Linked DNA regions of Homo sapiens: region 1 is linked to region 2. Evidence: promoter capture Hi-C in 16 types of primary human blood cells and fetal thymus (Javierre and others, 2016). All regions are on one chromosome and are shown on one strand. Each heading gives the region's core, a stretch centred on a gene start or on the middle of the fragment in contact. The rest is flanking DNA. Distances are from core to core; before and after follow the strand shown.

Region 1 (5,159 bases), core at 1,024-3,523, 420 kb before region 2:
CTCCCTGCCTCTCTGCTGTGCCTGGCCTCACCTGACAGCTCGGCTGTGCTTCCTGCTGCAGTCAGCATTTGGCCTCCAGCTCCAACCCTACCCCAGCTGTCCAACCCACAGCCAGCCTTGGGGGAGGACCAGGTGTCAAGCCAGACCAGCAGGCTCCAGCCAGGAATCCTTTAGCAATAAAGGGCTGGAGGATGTCCACTTGGGGGCCTCAATGCTGATATCTTCCACGTGAGGGGGCTGTCACCATGCAATCCTGTCCCCTCCCAAGGTATCACCTCCAGATGCTCTTAGGACCCAGGGTAGACCCTCTCCAGGTACTCTCTCTGATCCCCTCACCCTGGAGGAGGAAAACCTTACCCAAGGACCAGCCCGGCACACAACCCTTGTCTGAACTCCTGCCGCATCTCTAAAACACCCTGCATTTTTGCATTCTACCCTGTAATACAGCATTTTGATGTTCACATAACCATGCCCCCAAAAATCTGCAGATGCAACTGACAACTCAGGGCAATGCCACAAGTTTCTCCTGAAGCTTCATCTGTAGACCCAACAGAGCCCCAGGAACTCCCAGGAAAGGCAGAGGTACCTCACTTTGAGAGGCACAGAACTGAGTAAGACTCCACAGCAAATCTGGGAGTCGGCAGGGCCACTGACCAAGAAGGAAGGAGGTGTGGCCTACAGGCCATAGTCAGGACCTTTCCTTTCTCACCACTGACCATGTCACCCCACTGCACTGCCCACCCTAATCTGCAGGGAAAACAGCTAACCAGACATGACAGGACTGGATCCAATGCCTAACTTCAAACCCACCAGTCTCTCCTACAAAGTCAAAAGCGTACTTGCCCTGAAGAGCAGTGACACAAACTCGGGGCCTTTTTGTGATTTGGGGGTAGGGCCTGCCCTACCGTATCCGTTGCCTCTGGATAAGGGCATGCCTAGCGAGGGCAGCACACTCCTAGCCCAGCACCCTCCTGCCTCAACCTCCCTCCACCCTCTACCCACCTGGAAAGGCTGTGGAACCCAAGGTGACCCTGAAAAGGTGGTCCTTCTGGCAGGATTGCTGATGGGGCCTGCCCTGCCCAGGCCCAGAGCTAGCCCTCTCTGCCAGGCAGGCACTGTTTAAAACCTGCAGACATCCTCGACAGACATTCTCTAAGACCTTGCCCACTCCAGTAATCCACAAGATTGAGGGCAGACAGGAAAGGAAAGGGTATCACTCAGACAGACTTGTCTTTCCCTGGAAGGCCAGCTGTACGGCTTCCATTCACTCCTGGAGCTGACCTGCCTCCCTCTTTGTCCTTTTCTGGCTGTGCTTAAGAGCCTAGCTTCCCTGGCAGCCTAAGGTCAGGGTCTGTGACTGGGATGCGTGCGGAGAAGGGGAGGAAGGCCGGTGACAGGCGGCTAAGGCAGCAGCAACGGGGGAGATATGAGAGCGGACAGAGGACCCAGGGAGAGGCCGGGCCCTCAGCTCACTGCCCCGCGGCCCCAGGGGCCACCTGTGCCCTGACACCACCTGACCCTCAGCAAACTTCCGCCCAGTGGCTTCCTGCCAGAAATCTAGCCAGCCGTGCACCCGCCTCCCTTACAAACAATCCTTGCCCAAAGGTTAGCAATGTGGCTGCCGTCACCTACGCCCAAGTCAACAGTTGACGCTTTAGTACGGGCCAGGTGGGCATGCGCCCCGTGAGCATCACCGAGAAAGTCTCACAAAAGCCCCTGGGGAGCGGGGGGAGGGCTCAGTCACGTGCCCCAGGCCGGTGCCCCACCCCCGCCCCCGCCGCCCCCCCGCCCTGGGGTTTCTGGTCCCTCCGGGAATGTTCCCAGAAGCGCCAGCCCAGCCCAGCCCGGGGTACCAAGGCGCCCAGGCCCGAGCGGGTAACCATGGCAACCCCAGGACGCCGGCTCCCGGCGGCCCCGCCATTCCTCCGCCCCGGGAGGCGCCCGGCAGACCCCCGACCCCCAGCGGGTCCTTTCCCCTGGGGCCGCCGGGGCGGGGCGGGGCAGGGCAGGGCGAGGAGCGCATGCGCGGCGGGGCCGGCCCCTCTCCCCGACTGGATACTCACAGACTGCCCCCAGCACCCCAGACAGGCGACACAGCCAGCGGTACCACCACGTCATGCCCTCTTCCTGCGCGGGCGGCGCAGAGCTGGCGGACGCCCCGGGCGCCCCACCTGAGCTGCTCATGGTGCCACCGTCAGGCGCAGCTCACAGCCCTCACAAAGGGCTCGGTAGCCGGCCGCGTCCGAGCCGGCGCGCTGCCTTGTGGGAGAGGGAGCATATTAGCATAGGGGGCGGGGCTTTCAGGCTGCGGCGAGGCGCGCCCGAAGGGAGGCGGGTGCTCATTAACATAGTGAGCGGGACCCTCATGCCGCGACTAGGGGCGTTTGAGGGGAGGTAGGTGCTCATTATTGTAGGGGGCGGGACCCGCAGGCTGCGGCGAGGAGCTGGGGGTGGGGAGCTCGTTAGCATACGGGGCGGGGCTCGCAGGCATCGGAGAGGTGTGCCCGAGGGGGGCGGGCGTCATTAGCGTAGGGGGCGGGGGCTCGCAGTTTGCGGCGACTTGCTCCCAAAGGAGGCGGGCGCTTATTAGCATAGGGGGCGGGGCCTGGAGGCGCGCAGACACCTTAGCGGTCAGAGCCTCACACCAGGACACACGGGTGGGGCTTCGCAGGGAGCTGGCTAATGCGCCATCCTCGGAGTGGAATCCTGATTGGATTTTCTTCCTGGATAGGAAGAAGATAACTAGGGACGTCCAGCGGCTTGCTCAGATCAAGATAGAGCCAACCGCGGCCAGCGAATCCCTGCCTTGCCATGGGATGGGTTTTCAAGCCAGGTCTGGACAGCTTATAAGAAAAAAACGCCGGTCAGCCTGCATGTTTTATTTATTGGTACCCGAGGAAATGGGGGCTGCTTTTCCAGAGTCCCCACCTCCAACCCCCTAGCCTTTTGGACATTGGAGAAGACTCTAAAGTAGATACCTAAGATTGGAAAAAGTTCGAATTGGAAAGCACTGAGACCAGGGGTCAACCCTCCAGGGCTGGCCAGACACGGAACAAATGTTCAATGACCCTCAGGTTCCTTCCTTTCCCTTCCAGGACTGAGGGTCCTGCATCTCCGGTACCCATGATTGGAGGGTCCAGTACTGGCCCCGCAGGCTGGCCTGAGCCTTCAGGAAGCCCTCGCTGAACTCCATCTCAGCCTGGCTGCTCTCTGACTCCCAGTAGAGCACCTGCTGCCCATGGAACGCTGTGGTCCTCAAGCTGTGGGTGTCCCGGATCTGAGAGAAAAGGGGCAGCCCAGAAGGACCGGCCACAAGTAATAATTAGCACTCACGGAAGCCTTCGTGTGCAAGGGCTCACAGATTCCGGATCACATTTAATGCTTACAAAGCCCTACTAGGAATACGCCATTACTCTACCCAGAAAACCGAGGTCCAGGGACGTTACATCACTTCCCCAAGGACACACAGTCAGGGTGCCAGAGCGGGGCCAGGCTGCCTCCTCTGGGGAAGCTGATACCCTGCAGAACACAGTTCTCCCAGGACACTTGAAACCTCGGGGAGGGTGCAGGGTGCTATTCTGTCCAAGTTATATCAGACTGTAAAATTATGCTTCAGTCTTGGGTTAGCTGTCAGTCTACATCAGAAAGGTCTTTACCATTCTTTACCATTTCGCTTTTTTTTTTTTTTTTTTTTTGAGACAGAGTCTCACTCTGTTGCCCAGGCTGGAGTGCAGTGGTGCGATCTGGGCTTAGTGCAACCTCCACCTCCCGGGTTCAAGTGATTCTTGTGCCTCAGCCTCCCAAGTAGCTGGGATTACAGGCACACGCCACCATGCCTGGCTACTTTTTCTATTTTTAGTAGAGACAAGGTTTCATCATGTTGGCCAGGCTGGTCTCGAACTCCTGACCTTGAGTGATCTGCCCTCCTGGGCCTCCCAAAGTGCTGGGATTACAGTTGTGAGCCACTATTTCACTCTTGTAGGTAGCTCAAAAAACATTTCTTGGTGAATATGTGGAGGAAGCTATCTTCTCCCATTCTTTCACTAATGATTTTGAGGGTTTTAGTCTGAAATAAACTGAAGGGGGTCCCCTAGCCCTGCACGCCCTAGGGAAAGCTGTCCAGAATCACAGCACAAGTCCCCATGCTGGGCCTCACCAAGATGTAGCTGGCATTGGCTCCCTCGGTCCCAGCGCCCATGTTGGTGGCCAGGGCATGGATGGCAATCCGTGCGTGCGGAGCCACATTAATGAAGAGCCGGCAGCCCCCTGCATTACTCGTGGCTGGACTCAGCGAGGGGCTCACGATTTCACCCCAGGGCCCAAAGAGCTGCATGTCACATTCTGCAGGTGGGACATAGGGACATAGGAACCCAGACAGACCGGTGGTGCCAGAGGCCAGGACAACTCACAGCCAGGGAGCCGTGCAGGGCAGCATGGCACTGTGGTCAATATTGGGGTTCCCAGGCAAATCCTGCTGAACCCCACCTCTACCACTTCCTGGCCCAGTGACTTTAGGCAAAGGCTAAATGTTCTGGGCTCTGGTTCCCTCCTCTGTAACTGAAGGAAACAATGGCATGCACTGAGCAGAGTGGTCTTTAGGACTCAATGATGTCACACGTGCAAGAGTGTTTAACACTGAAACTGGCAACAAAGATAGGCTCCACCCATGGCGGCCACTGCTGTTCCTCAGAGCTCACTGGAGCCCCCACCTGCCTGTACCTCCTGCACCTCTTTCAAGGCAGATGCCTGTGTGGGCGGGGCTGGGCCGGGAAGCGAGAAGCAATGTGAACGGTGACAGTGGGCTTGTGGCCTTTTGGCAGGGCCCAGCAGCGCCTGTGCACTGGGACACATACACGGCTCTCTGCCCGGGCAGGTCTGGGGCAAGGAGGCGGCGCACTAGGTCTCTGCAGAGGCTAAGCCCCTGTTGCCACTAAGCCCCAGACACCTGGGGGAGCCGAGGAACCTCTGGAACCAGCTAGGGAAGCCAACTTCGGCCAGCTCGGGCTGTTGGGAGAGGGCAAGCCCCCCAGGACAACCGAGAGGGCTATCAGAGGATATCGAGGGGGCCACGGGCAAGGCTGGAGTCCCTGAGGTGGCATCCTCTGCCTGAGGTGTGCTTGTGGGTGCACATGCATGTACAAGCATGTCTGCTTACACCA
Region 2 (5,075 bases), core at 861-3,360:
GAGCTTCATCTCCCCGTGCCTCAGTTTTCTACCCCGGGTAATGAGGATACGGCAGTGCAACACACCCTGTGGGGCTGCAGAGTTGCATTCCTGGCACCAGTGCCCAGGCTGTGGCTCACATTTGTGGATGGAATGAAAAAAAAGCCCCTAGGAGCCGGGCGCAGTGGCTCACACCTGTAATCCCAGCACTTTGGGAGGCCGAGCTGGGTGGATCACCTGAGGTCAGGAGTTCGAGACCAGCCTGGCCAACATGGTGAAACCCCAACTCTACTAAAAAAAAAAAAACAAAAATTAGCCGGGCGTGGTGGTGGGTGTCTATAATCCCAGCTACTCAGGAGGCTGAGGCAGGAGAACTGCTTGAACCCGGGAGGCGGAGGTTACAGTGAGCCGAGATCGCGCCACTGCACTCCAGCCTGGGCGACGGAGCCAGACTCCGTCTCAAAAAAAAAAAAAAAAAAGCTCCTAGGGGTCTCCCCCACAGTCCCTTCCCCTCTGTCCCCTGGGGAGAAAAAGGCTGTTCCTGGCAATTACAGATACCAAAGCCCTGCCCATTGGGCACCCAGAGTCCACCACACTCTCCGTTGCCAAGGAAACCACACGCCCGGGTAGACTCTCCCCTTCAGCCGCCGTCCAGCAACTCCGTCCCTCTCTCAGTGTCCCGGATATTAGATATCCAGGTTGAGTGAGTTCCTCCTCAAAGGTTCAGCTTGTTCAACTCCCTTCTTCTTTGTTCTCCATCTTCAAAGTCTAACTTCCTTGTTCTTTGCGCCTCCTTGCCCTTAGTTACCCGCTCTGTAACTGCCCTTCCCGCCGAAACTATTCTTCCTGGCGAAACCGCTCATCCAGCCACTGTAACCCACATCCCTGTTCTATTTGAAATAGCCAATCGAGATCAGCTTAGATTGTGCGGTCCAACTCCAGCCAGTGGGACAAGACACAGGAACCTTTCCTCCTTTGTTCCGTGTGCTCTGGTGGCCAGAAGAGCGAGCAGCACAGCACCTTTCTTCTGCAGAACTAAATGTGCTAAGTTTACTTCTGCAGAAGGGTGCTGCTCGCTCTTCTGTTTGTTCCCTTCCGTCTAGCGTCAGCTGCTCCTCAGAAGAGCTTTTTGTTTCAGGGGTAAAGGGAGAAGGATTTAGAGCAAAAATCTTAGAAGACGCAGAGTTCAAACATAAAAATCGAACAGCCCACGTTAAATTTCTGCTAATCCCTGAAGCAGGAACTAACCCGTTAGGAAGAGACTTAAAGTTAGGTATAGGTTTACATGTTAGCCCAGAAGGATTCCTCACCTCATTAAACCTACTTACCACCATGAAGAAAAATACATTCATCCCGATCTCTGGTCAAGGGAAGGGAATTGGGGAAGACTCCAAGTCCCACCCCCCCACCATACATATAAAGTTAAAAACCCCGGGGGGAAATAGTAAGAAGGAAGCAATATCCCATCCCCTTAGAAGGCAGAATAGGCCTAAAACCTATCATTGAGAGTCTCATTAGGGACGGGCTCCTTGAACCCGGTGTGTCCCCTTATCCCAATACTGCCTGTAAGAAAGTCAGATGGGTCATACTGACTAGTGCAAGGCCTCTGGGCCATCAGCCAGATATTCCAGACTACTCACCCTGTTGTCCCTAATCCTTACACCCTCCTCAGCAAAATTCCATACGACCATCAGTGGTTTACAGTAATATATTTAAGATGCTTTTTGGGCATGCCCCTTGTCTGAGGACAGCCGAGACATTTTTGCTTGCGAATGGAAAGATCCCCATTCCGGACGGAAGCAACAGTATCGACGGACAGTTCTCCCCCAAGACTTCACAGACTCCTCTAACCTCTTCGGTCAGATTCTAGAACAAGTTCTAGAACAAATTTCTACCCCAAAACACATGCCTGCTCCAATACGTGGATGACCCGCTGGTATCTGGTGAAGCTACAGAACGGATAGCTGCCCTCTCCGTCCACCTCCTTAACCATTTGCAAGGAAAAGGGTTATGGGGTTTCAAAGGGAAAGCTTCAATCTGTAGAGCCAGAAGTTAAATACCTAGGACACTTGATACGAAGGACAGGAACTGAACACGTCGAAGGGATCGTGTCCTTCTTAACTTTGCCTAAAACTAAGCAGGAACTCGTAACATTCCTAGGATTGGTTGGATATTGCCGCTTACGGATTGACTCATATGCCCTAAAAACAAAATCTTTATACCTAAAGCTTGCCCAAGAAAAGCCTGACCCTCTTCTGTGGACCTCTGAAGAAATCCACCAGGTTGAAGAACTAAAACATATGCTCATAACTGCCCCGTCCTAGCCCTGCCTTCCCTAGAAAAGCCATCTCATCTTTTCATTAATGTAAAGAAGGGGGTAGCTTTAGGGGTACTTACTCAAGAACACGGGGGTCACTGGCAACCTGTGGTGTTCCTGTCGAAAGTTTTAGATCCAGTAACCTGTGGATGGCTTGAATGTATTCAATCCATTGCGGCTACGGCTTTGTTAACTGAAGAAAGCAGAAAGCTGACCTTTGGGGGAGATTTAGTTGTGAGCACGCCTCATCAAGTTAGAACTATCTTAAACCAGAAAGCAGGGAGATGGCTCACTGACTCAAAAATTTTAAAGTATGAAGCTATCCTATTAGAGAGATGATTTAACACTAACCACTGATAATTCACTTAACCCAGCAGGTCTCCTAACAGGGAATCCAAATCTAAAAGGACCTGAGCATGAGTGTTTAGATTCAGGCCCGATGTAAGGGAGACCCCTTTCAAACAGGGCAGCACTTATTTATAGATGGCTCTTCCCAGGTAACTGAAGGAAAAAGACATAATGGATATTCAGTAGTCTATGGGGAAGCCCTTGCAGAAGGAGGGTCAGGAAGGCTGCCCAGTCATTGGTCTGCCCAAACATGTGAATTGTTTGCAATGAATCAAGCCTTAAAGCACTTGCAAAACCAAGAAGGAACTATTTATTCTGATTCCAAGTACGCCTTCGGGCTAGCTCATACCTTTGGAAAAATTTGGACCGAACGAGGTCTCATTAATAGCAAAGGCCAAGACCTTGCCCACAAGGAATTAATCACCCAAGTGTTAGGTAACCTCCAGCTGCCAGAAGAAATAGCTACTGTCCATGTCCCAGGACACCAGAAAGGTCTTTCTTGTGAAAGTCGAGGTAATAACCTTGCAGATCAAATAGCCAAACAAGCTGCCATTTCCTCAAAACGCTCACTTTTCACCTAACCCCTTGTCTTCCTCCCCCGACCGCAGTTCCCATCTTCTCTTCCACTGAAAAAGGGAAATTAATAAAAATAGGGGCCAAAGAGAATTCTGAAGGGAAATGGGTGTTACCAGACCAAAGAGAAATGTTATCCAAACCCCTCAAGAGAGAAGTCTTATCTCAGCTGCATCAAGGAATTCACTGGGGACCCCAAGCCATGTGTGATGCAGTTCTCAGGGTTTAGGGATGTATAGGAATTTATACTCTGGAAAGACAAGTTACAGATAGTTGTCTAATATGCAAAAAGACTAATAAGCAGACCCTAAGAAAACCACTCCCTGGGGGAAAGGAGTCCAGGGTTAAGACCGTCCCAAAGTGTCCAAATTGATTACACCGAAATGCCCCCAGTCGGTTGCCTAAAGTACTTATTAGTGATAGTAGATCACCTTACGCACTGGAGGGAACCTATTCCCTTTTCAAGTGCAACTGCTAATAATGTAATTAAAGCATTGATTGAGAATATTATACCCAGGTTTAACAGATTAATACAAAATATTGATTCAGATAATGGGACTCATTTCACTGCACATGCCGTCAAGAAACTAGCCCAAGTACTAGACATAGCAGGGGAATACCACACTCCCTGGCACCCACCTTCATCAGGAAGAGTGGAGAGAATGAACCAAACTCTGAAGAGTCACTTAACCAAATTAGTCTTAGAGACTCGGTTGCCATGGACTAAATGCCTTCCCATTGCCTTGTGAAAAATCCGAACTGCCCCTTGGAAAGATGTTGGCTTATCCCCTTATGAAATGCTATATGGGTTGCCTTATCTACACTCCATTGCTGACATTGCTACGTTTGAAACAAAGATCAGTTTCTTAAAAACTATAAACTTGGTCTCTCCTCCACTTTTTCTTCCCTCAGGACTGAAGGCCTCTGAGCACAGACGCCAGCTCTAGAGTTTCCAGCACACCAGCATCAGCCTGGGGATCACGTTCTCATCAAAAGCTGGAAGGAGGGAAAACTTGAACCAGCTTGGGAAGGGCCTTATCTGGTACTCTTAACTACTGAAACAGCGATTCGAACGGCTGAAAAGGGATGGGCACACTACACGCCAGGTGAAAGGAGTAATGTCCACAGACAGGGAAAAATGGGCTGTCACCCCGGGACCCACCCCTACCAAACTAACCCTAAAAAGGGCTTAATAATCACTTGTCTATTTTTCCTTTTCTTTCCAACATAAGGTCATCTTGTCATCAATGTGACTCAGGCTAACCATCCCTTGACCCTTCAGTTCGACACTTGTTCTTACCCCGTGCAGATACGAACAAGCTCAAAGGCAGCTATCCGATGTAGTTAAGTATCCATGTCCATATCGCAGACAGTCAAACAAGTATAAGTATGGAGCCTTAAAGGGCCCCTGTGGTGACTGGGCAAATGTTTGGTGGACCAGTCAATATGGGAGGCGGACAGCCAACCCCCCTCCTTTAAATAAGTTGCGGAAACTCAAACAAAAACTCTAACTTATCCATCGCTCCACTCCACCAAATTGTAAGCCACTGCGGTGTAACCCCTTATTGCTAATTATAGATAATCCCCAAACAATGGCCCAAGAACCCTCTGTATTCGGACGGTACGGGTTAGGAGCAGATGTTACAGGACGGGATCCCATAGGAACCCTCTCTAAGGTTGACTGGACCATCGGCGGTTAAAAACAATGAAGAAACCCAGACCCAGAGTCCAGGGAACGTATGGGACCCAACGCTCTCCCCAAACATATCAGGCCCAGTGTTCCCCTCCGGTCTCCACAACGACCCAGCCAAAGTAGCAGCTGTAGAAGTAAGAGACCTAAAGCAAACTCTAGCAATTG

Evidence for each region. The method cuts DNA at HindIII sites, captures the fragments that hold promoters and counts their contacts. A CHiCAGO score of 5 or more calls a contact.
Region 1: a contact is called between the fragment with the promoter of CACFD1 here and a fragment that was not itself captured in region 2, in 1 of 17 cell types (total B cells). The highest score is 5.0, in total B cells.

Annotation. Positions count from the first base shown.
Region 1 is chr9:133,457,092-133,462,250 of GRCh38, reverse strand. It overlaps CACFD1 (calcium channel flower domain containing 1), which reads right to left and starts at 2,273. Exons shown (of 5, transcript NM_017586.5): 1 at 2,064-2,273. The coding sequence starts at 2,184. ADAMTS13 (ADAM metallopeptidase with thrombospondin type 1 motif 13) reads right to left here. Exons shown (of 29, transcript NM_139027.6): 28 at 4,157-4,341; 29 at 2,865-3,277. The coding sequence ends at 3,071. RefSeq lists silencers at 1,758-2,057, 2,348-2,447, 2,458-2,677 and enhancers at 4,510-4,804, 4,328-5,159. The HindIII fragment of the contact is 16,509 bases long and covers 535-5,159 here.
Region 2 is chr9:133,033,834-133,038,908 of GRCh38, reverse strand. All of the region lies in intron 1 of GTF3C5 (general transcription factor IIIC subunit 5), which reads right to left. Among named protein-coding and RNA genes, the nearest start is that of GTF3C5, 5.4 kb to the right of the region's middle. The HindIII fragment of the contact is 198 bases long and covers 2,012-2,209 here.